Regions from separate parts of the Homo sapiens genome. Here regions 2 and 3 are each linked to region 1. The links are contacts of gene promoters, found by promoter capture Hi-C in blood cells and fetal thymus (Javierre and others, 2016). All regions are on one chromosome and are shown on one strand. Each heading gives the region's core, a stretch centred on a gene start or on the middle of the fragment in contact. The rest is flanking DNA. Distances are from core to core; before and after follow the strand shown. Region 1 holds the start of ZNF223 (zinc finger protein 223). Region 2 overlaps ZNF404 (zinc finger protein 404). Region 3 overlaps ZNF283 (zinc finger protein 283).

Region 1 (2,700 bases), core at 105-2,604:
ACAGAGTCCTTTGCTCACATGTTTTCCGGCTGACCCTCTCCCCACCATTACCCTATAGTCCTTCCACATCCCCCTCACCAAGATAGTAGAGATAGTGATCAATAAATACTGAGGGAACTCAGAGACCAGTGCCGGTACAGGTCCTCATTTGCTGAGCGCCGGTCCCCTGGGCCCACTTTTCTTCCTCTATACTTTGTGTCTGTGTCTTATTTCTTTTCTCAGTTTCTCATTTCCACCTTGTGAGAAACACCCACAGGTGTGGAGAGGCAGGCCCCCTTCAATATCAAACTCCAAATGAACAACTATGGAAATGTGACAGCTAAAGACAACGCATAAACTGGACTTTGAATAGGTGAAGGGTGGGGCAGAGGACAGTCATAAGGACTTTAAATGAAAAATTTAACAAATTCGTATATGGAACTGCAGATTAGATAACATGATGCTAGGTAATATGCTATCCAACACTATCTAGTAAGTACACTACAAATACTAGTATTCTTTTAACACATCTATCTGACATGTAATCGGTAACAGTATTATTTAACATAATATCCAATATTATCTACCATGTTATGTGAAACCCTATAACCAGCCCTTCCTAAATGCCTCTTACCAAGACACCCCACAATTACCGTGGTATGTGGGCTTCCTTGCTGCAGAAAGCTACCAATCAGCTGTCTCTGGTTACAGGTATGTTCCTGGTGGTATTTGGTTGATGGTCATCAACAAAGCAAACAGGAAAAATGTAAACACTTGGCAAATTTGGGTAAAGGGTATATGAGAATTTCTTATACTGTTTTTGCAATTTTTCTATAGCTTTGAAATGATATCAAACGTTTTAAAATATCAGGCAACAAGAGACCACTCACCAAGTGACAGGGACAACTTTAAGGCTTTCATTTGTATTATCTCTTTCAATTCGCAAAACAATTCTATTAGGATGACCCTATAAGCACCATTTTAAAGAACAGCAATGGGAAGTACAGAGACATTAACATTCCACATCACACTGCGAGAAAGAGTGTACACACTGCATACGTAGGGAGGCGGACTGAGCGAGGTCAAAGTCCTGGAAACCCTCAGAGCAGGGCACACAAGGCCACCCCAATCCCACCCCCCGGGAGGCGAGCAAAGCCCCCCGACGCCAGAAGGCTCCGCTGACGGGAACAATAAACACCCTCCCCGCCCTCGCACCTCTAAACCTCTGCTCTTCGCCAAGGCTTCTTTTCCCCTGAGACGATCATCGATCATCGGGTGGTTGCGAGCCTCAAGCAAAGGGGGTTCGTTCAAAATGTCCTGCAAGACGCAGAAATGGCTCAAACTACCCCGGTCATTAAAGCAGGAACCTCAGACTAGGAGACCGGAAGTGTCCTCTCTGCGCCAGAGTGTCTGGACTCCACTCCCCAGAATTCCCCGGACCCGCCCCCCTGAGCCAAAGGGCCCGGGACTCCGCAGAGTGTCTGGACTATCGTTCCCAGAATTCAACGGTTCACCTGCCAGAGCCAAAATACCCAGTGTTCCACGAGCCAGTGGACTACACTTCCCGTAAAATGGACTACTCTTCCCAGAATTCTCCGGAAACGCCTACCTGAGCTGAAGTATCAGGAATCCCGCAAGGTGTCTGGACTGCAGAGCCTCAGATGCAAAAGGAAAATGTCCATCACCTCACCCTTTAGGCTCAAGTGTTGCGACTACATGGTGCTCCTCGATTACACTTCCCGCAACACCCACGGGGAACGAATTTCATAGCCCCAGGTTCCTGGTGGGGAATGCAGACTGTTACCCTGACAGTTGTCCTTCCCAGAGTCCTCGAGCGAAAATATTGAATAGAAAGAATTTATGAAGTCTAAATGTCTCCCATGATTGACAGGAGTGTTCTTGGACAGGGAACAAGCGAGGAGATACAATATTCAAGGAGCTAGATAGAGTGACTGTTGAGCCGTCAGATGGCTGAAAGGAGGCTCAGGGTTTAAAGCAAGGATATCCAACTCCAGGGCCACAGACCTGTACCGGTCCACTGACTGTTAGGAACCGGGCGGCACAGCAGGAAGTGAGCGGCAGGTGAGGGAGCATTATGGCCTGAGCTCCACCTCCTGTGAGATCAGCCCAGCATTACATTCTCATAGGAGCGCGGATCCTATTGTGAACTGTGCGTGCGAAGGATCTAGGTCAGGCGCTCCTTATGAGAATCTAATGGCTGAGGTGGAACAGTTTCATCCCGAAACCATTCCCCAGTCCGTGGAAAAATTGTCTTCCACAAAACCGGTCCATGGTGCTAAAACGGTTGGGGACCACTGGTTTAAAGAATGAGCCAGGTAGAATGGGTTGGGAGGGGCAATGAGAAGCCAGGAAAGCATCAGCCCCTGTAACTGAAAAGTAGATCAGTGGCTTCCCGTTTGCAACGTCCAGTTAACAAGAGGGAGATCTGGTATAAAGAAAGTGATTTATTCTAGAGCTAGCGTAGGGGAAGTAGCACAGGTGTTGTCTTTAAGTGCACGGCTTGGCTTTTAGAGCAGAAAGCAGGCACTTTTAAAAGGTAGGGGAGGAAGAGGGAAGGGGTCTGTGTGCTGGCTTGGTGCCTTATCTATTAGGCAGTTGAGCTGGCTTTTTCATGGGCAGAAATAAGTTGTAACCAGAAGGGAGAGAGTAGCAGGCACGCTTTCAACTGTTGTCTCTTCAGGCAACCTCCTGGTGAGTGAG
Region 2 (2,700 bases), core at 198-2,697, 180 kb after region 1:
AAACCCTATGAATGTAAGGAATGTGGAAAAACCTTTAGACTTAATTCTCAACTAATTTATCATCAGACAATTCATACTGGTTTGAAACCCTATGTATGTAAAGAATGTAAGAAGGCCTTTCGTTCTATCTCAGGTCTTTCTCAACATAAGAGAATTCATACTGGTGAAAAACCCTATGAATGTAAAGAATGTGATAAGGCCTTTAATCGCAGTGATCGACTTACTCAACATGAGACAATTCATACTGGTGTGAAACCACAGAAATGCAAAGAATGTGGTAAGGCCTTTAGTCATTGCTATCAACTTAGTCAACATCAAAGATTTCACCATGGTGAGAGACTCTTAATGTAATGAGAGGGAAAGCCTTTAGCCATGGCACATTTTTACTGTTGTCACTATTATGATGCTATAGTGAAGATTAAACTAGTTAATATAGAATATAAATACTTGGAAAGGCATCTGGCACATCGTATTTGCTTACTAAATACATTATTTTTATGATAATTGTTAGAATTACTAAAAATAAATCTTATAGAAGGAAGACCCTATGAGTGTGATATTTTGAAAATGCTCTATCATCACTTCATATAATTTATTCTGGACAAAATCCTGTAGAATATATTAAATGAGAAATTTTTAAATTCAGAATTCATACCCCTGAAGATTAATGCTGGAATAAATAATGTGTATTTATTGAATAATGAAAGGATAGCTGTTGAAAATTAGAGAGTGGTTTAAAGAAATTTTTTCACAAATCCTATAATACAGATAACACATATTTTGCATCCTCTACAATTAAAATAAATTAGAAATGAACAGTTAGGTAGCCAAAAGACAGATATTAACTTGGAAAAGTTTTCCCTAAGTTTATGAAAATGTTAAGATTTACATCCTTACAGAAAAGGTAGCTGTTTACAGTGGTGCAGTGAAGGCTTGTTTGCCCTTCACCTAGTTTCAGTACATCTGATGTCTCTCTTTTTTATGTGTATACTAACACATATATACACACAAATACATATATACCATGCATGTCTTATGTCTATGTATATACACAGATGCATATATATATATATCATACTTATTACACATGAATATATGTATATATTACATATATCACTTTTCCTGTTTTTTGAGTGAATGTTTTAGGTATCATTCACCTCTAAAAAAAAGGCAACATACAACTGCTAGGATCAAAGATAATCTTCTAGATGTCTACTACACCATTGTCACAAAAAAATTAACAGTAACCCTATAATGTCTTAAAATATTCACTCCATTTGCAAATTTCTCCAATTTTTAAAATAATGTCTTTTAGCACTGTCTTTTTCACAAGCCAAGAACCAAACTAATCTCATATATTTTATATGATTATGGCTTATTAAGTCTCTTTTAGTCAAGAGCCTACCCTTCATCATTTTGTGACATAGACTTTTTGAAGACTTTAGATTTGACCTAAATAGTGTTGCACATGCTGTGTTTGTCTTATTGTTTCTGGAGGTGTGATTAACTTGTTTCTTTGTCCTCTATATTTACTGTGACCTGGAGGTTATGATTAGAGGCTTGATTGGGTTTCAGATTAAACATTTTCAAAAGACTACTTCATAGATAGTATCATGTACTTAATATTGTAAAGTATCAGGTGGCCTACAAGTGAAACTATGTTTTATCCCTTGATTCATGTATTGACCACCAGCTCCTTCCATTGTTATGGGTGAATTTTTTCTTTGCAATTAAATAAGTAATCCATGGAAAGTCATGTTGGAAATTTGAACAGTCTTCTGTATTCTATTTTTAGAGATGGGGTATTGCTATGTTGCCCAGGCTGGAATTCAGTGGCTATTCACAGATGTTATATAGCACACTACAGCCTTGAACTCCTGAGCTCAGGCAATCCTCCTGCCTCAACCTCTGGAGTAGCTGGGACTATAGGCACACAGTGCTACACCCAGTTGCTTAAAGAAATTAAGATGAAAATCCTCATCTTTTATATTTACCCATATATTTACTATTTCCCATGCTGTTTATTTCTTTCCAGAGATCTGAATTTTTCTCTGGTATCATTTCCCTACAGTTTGAGGAACTTAACTTAGCATTTCTTGGAGTGAACGTCTGCTGGTGATGAATTTTCATAGTTTCTTTTACTGAAATGCCTTTATTTTTTAAGGATTTCTTCTGGCTATAGAATTCTGGGTTGGCAGTTTTTTGGAGATATATGAATATATGTGTGTGTATATGCACACACACAAAGAATACACACACATATATATACTCATAAAGAGATATATATTGTTTCATATATGTATATATAAATCACCGACTTCTGGTCTTCAAGTCTCCATAGTTTACAAGAAGAAGTCATTTGAATTGTTTTTTCTCTTATGTAATGTGTCCTTTTTCTCTGGGTGCTTTCCAGATTTTCTTATTACTTTTGGTTTTCAGCTGTTTGAGTATGAGGTGCCTAGGTATGGTTTTCTTTGTGTTAATTCTGCTTGGGGTACTCTGAGCCTCTGAAATTTGCACACATGTGCCTTTCACCAAATTCCAGAAATTCTTGGCCATTATATCTTCAAATATTTTTTCTGCATTTACTCTACTCATACGTTAAATCTTTTGGTACTGTCCCACAGGTCACTGTCTTTGTTATTTATCTTCAGTATTTTTTTTCTGTTCTTCAGCTTGGACAACTTCTGTTACTCTGTT
Region 3 (2,700 bases), core at 151-2,650, 200 kb after region 1:
ATTCGTTATATTTGTAGGGTTTATCATTACTATGAGTTCTCTCATGAACAAGTTTTGAGCCACAAGTAAAGGTCTTCCCGAATTCCTTACGTTGATAAAGCTTCTCACCAGTATGAAATCTCTGATGAACACTAAGTTGATAGCCACTACCAAAGGCCTTCCCACAGTCTTTACATTCATAAGACTTCTCATTAGTATGGACTCTCTCATGCTTAACTAGGCTTGAACCCCAACTGAAGGCCTTCCCACATTCCTTACATTTGAAAGGTTTCTCACCGGTATGAATTTTCTGATGTTGAGTAAGGTGATAGCCACGACTAAAAGCCTTCCCACATTCTTTACATTCATAGGGTTTCTCCCCTGTATGGATTCTTTCATGTTGAACAAGGCTTGATCCACAATTAAAAGCCTTCCCACATTCCTTACATTCATAGGGTTTCTCACCAGTGTGAAATACCTGATGTCGAGTAAGTTGATACCCACTACAAAAGGTCTTTCCGCATTCTTTACATTCATGGGATTTCTCACCAGTATGAACTCTCTCATGTTTAACAAGGCTTGAACCCCAACTAAAGGCCTTCCCACATTCCTTACATTCAAAAGGTTTCTCACCAGTATGGATTTTCTGATGTTGAGAAAGGTGATAGCCACGACTAAAGGCCTTTCCACATTCTTTACATTCATAAGGTTTCTCACCAGTATGAATTCTTTCATGTTGAATAAGACTTGATCCGCAATTAAAAGCCTTCCCACATTCCTTGCATTCATAGGGTTTCTCACCAGTATGAAATATCTGATGTCGAGTAAGTTGATAGCCCCAACAAAAAGCCTTTCCACATATTTTACATTCATAAGGTTTCTTACCAGTATGGATTTTCTGATGCTGAGTAAGCTGATAGCCACGACTGAAGGCCTTCCCACATTCTTTACATTTATAAGGTTTCTCACCTGTATGAATTATCTCATGTTTAGCAAGGCTTGAGCCCCAAAAAAAGGCCTTCCCACATTCCTTACATTTATAAGATTTCACACCAGTATGAATTTTCTGATGTTGGGTAAGGTGATAGCCACGACTAAAGGCCTTCCCACATTCTTTACATTCATAGGGTTTCTCACCAGTGTGAATTCTCTCATGTTTAACAAGGCTTGATCCCCAGCTAAAGGTCTTCCCACATTCCTTACACTCATAGGGTTTCTCACCAGTATGAAATCTCTGATGCACATTGAGTTGATAGGCACTTAAATAATTCTTCCCACATTCTTTACATTCAAAGTGTTTTTCAGCTGTATGAGTTCTCTCATGTTGAACAAGTTTTGAGCCATGACTGCAAGCCTTCCCACATTCCTTACAAACATAGGATTTCTCTGTATTATGAATTCTTTGATGTGGAGTAAGAGATTTACTTTTTCTGTAAGAAGGTATTTTTTCATAGCTGATTATCATTTGACTGAAGTATCCCTCTTGATGTCCTTTTAGTCCCTCGAATATGCTTTTGCACTTCCAATTATTTCTGAAGATGGATGCCTCAAGGCCAAGGGTTTTACTTTTGTCCTTCATCTCCCACTGGGAAAAATTTATTTCAAAAATATCATTTTCTGAAAATATTTTTTTGGTCTCATACGTTTTTGACTCCAAATCTGAAAGAAAACAAGAAAACCACACATTTTATTTCCTTCACTAGGGAAAAAAAAAAAAAAACTACAGTAGAAATAAAAGACAAATTAGGAGACTTACTGAACTCACTCCTTGGCATTAAGGCACTCCCTTGTTAAATAACAAACTCAGCCTTGATTTTGCAGCTCTTGTGATCTGAATGTTCTGATTTTATAGTTTTCTGGAGGATTCCACAGAGGTCGCTTCAACAAGTCCCTCATTTTCCCACGCTGATGTTCCCTCAAACCAAATGTCAGCTTCCATCAATCAAGCCCTTATGTGCCCAGTTGTGGTCATCCAATGTATCTTAATGGGAATCAAATTCTTATCATAATGAGCTTTGGCTGATTTTGTTTTGTCTAACAACTCTTTTGTCTAACAACTCAATGGTCGCAACTCTGCCATTTTATCAAGGCAGCCATGGGCAATATGTAAACATATAAACAAATGGGCAAGACTATGTTCCAATACAACTTTATTTGCAAAAACAGGTGGATTTGGCCTCCAGAGCCAGAGTTTTCCAACCCCTGAGATAAAGCAAACATTGCTTTCATAAATGTTCACAATTGTAAAAATATAAAGTTCAATTAAATTTTACATTTACTTAGATTTATTAGCCAGAATTTTTATAAAAGGATTGATTTTTATAACTTCATATAATGCTGCAATTATGTGACTCTATAGATTTTACCTTATTTAAAAATTTTAAATGTCTATCAATTTTAAAAATCAACAGTAATTGTATTGCTATTTAAGGATCACTTTAAATTATAAGATCTCCAATTCACTTAGACAAAATGATCTTGAGAGTTACTAATAAATAATTTCTGGTTGCATAAAAAGTTCCTAAGAAGATATTCATAAAAGAGGAAGAACAAATATTTTGAGTTATTTTTCAATTAAGTTTACTTATTTCTTGACCATTGTTAAACATATTTTCACTCAACTAAGCTCAAACTACCCTGTCAAAAATCAATGTGATACACACATCATCTTATAACACATTAATACTGTTAATTATATTTTAAAATTGAAAATAAAGCTTT

Evidence for each region. The method cuts DNA at HindIII sites, captures the fragments that hold promoters and counts their contacts. A CHiCAGO score of 5 or more calls a contact.
Region 2: a fragment that was not itself captured here is called in contact with the fragment with the promoter of ZNF223 in region 1 in 1 of 17 cell types (erythroblasts); the score reaches 5.0 in erythroblasts.
Region 3: a fragment that was not itself captured here is called in contact with the fragment with the promoter of ZNF223 in region 1 in 1 of 17 cell types (naive CD8 T cells); the score reaches 5.3 in naive CD8 T cells.

Annotation. Positions count from the first base shown.
Region 1 is chr19:44,050,690-44,053,389 of GRCh38, reverse strand. ZNF223 (zinc finger protein 223) reads right to left here and starts at 1,354. Exons shown (of 5, transcript NM_013361.6): 1 at 1,195-1,354. RefSeq lists enhancers at 1,128-1,367, 1,187-1,688 and a silencer at 1,408-1,467. The HindIII fragment of the contact is 18,414 bases long and covers 1-2,700 here.
Region 2 is chr19:43,870,206-43,872,905 of GRCh38, reverse strand. ZNF404 (zinc finger protein 404) reads left to right here. Exons shown (of 3, transcript NM_001033719.3): 3 at 1-541. The coding sequence ends at 351. Among named protein-coding and RNA genes, the nearest start is that of ZNF404, 12 kb to the left of the region's middle. The HindIII fragment of the contact is 3,147 bases long and covers 1-2,700 here.
Region 3 is chr19:43,845,877-43,848,576 of GRCh38, reverse strand. ZNF283 (zinc finger protein 283) reads right to left here. Exons shown (of 7, transcript NM_181845.2): 7 at 1-1,638. Among named protein-coding and RNA genes, the nearest start is that of ZNF283, 20 kb to the right of the region's middle. The HindIII fragment of the contact is 2,596 bases long and covers 103-2,698 here.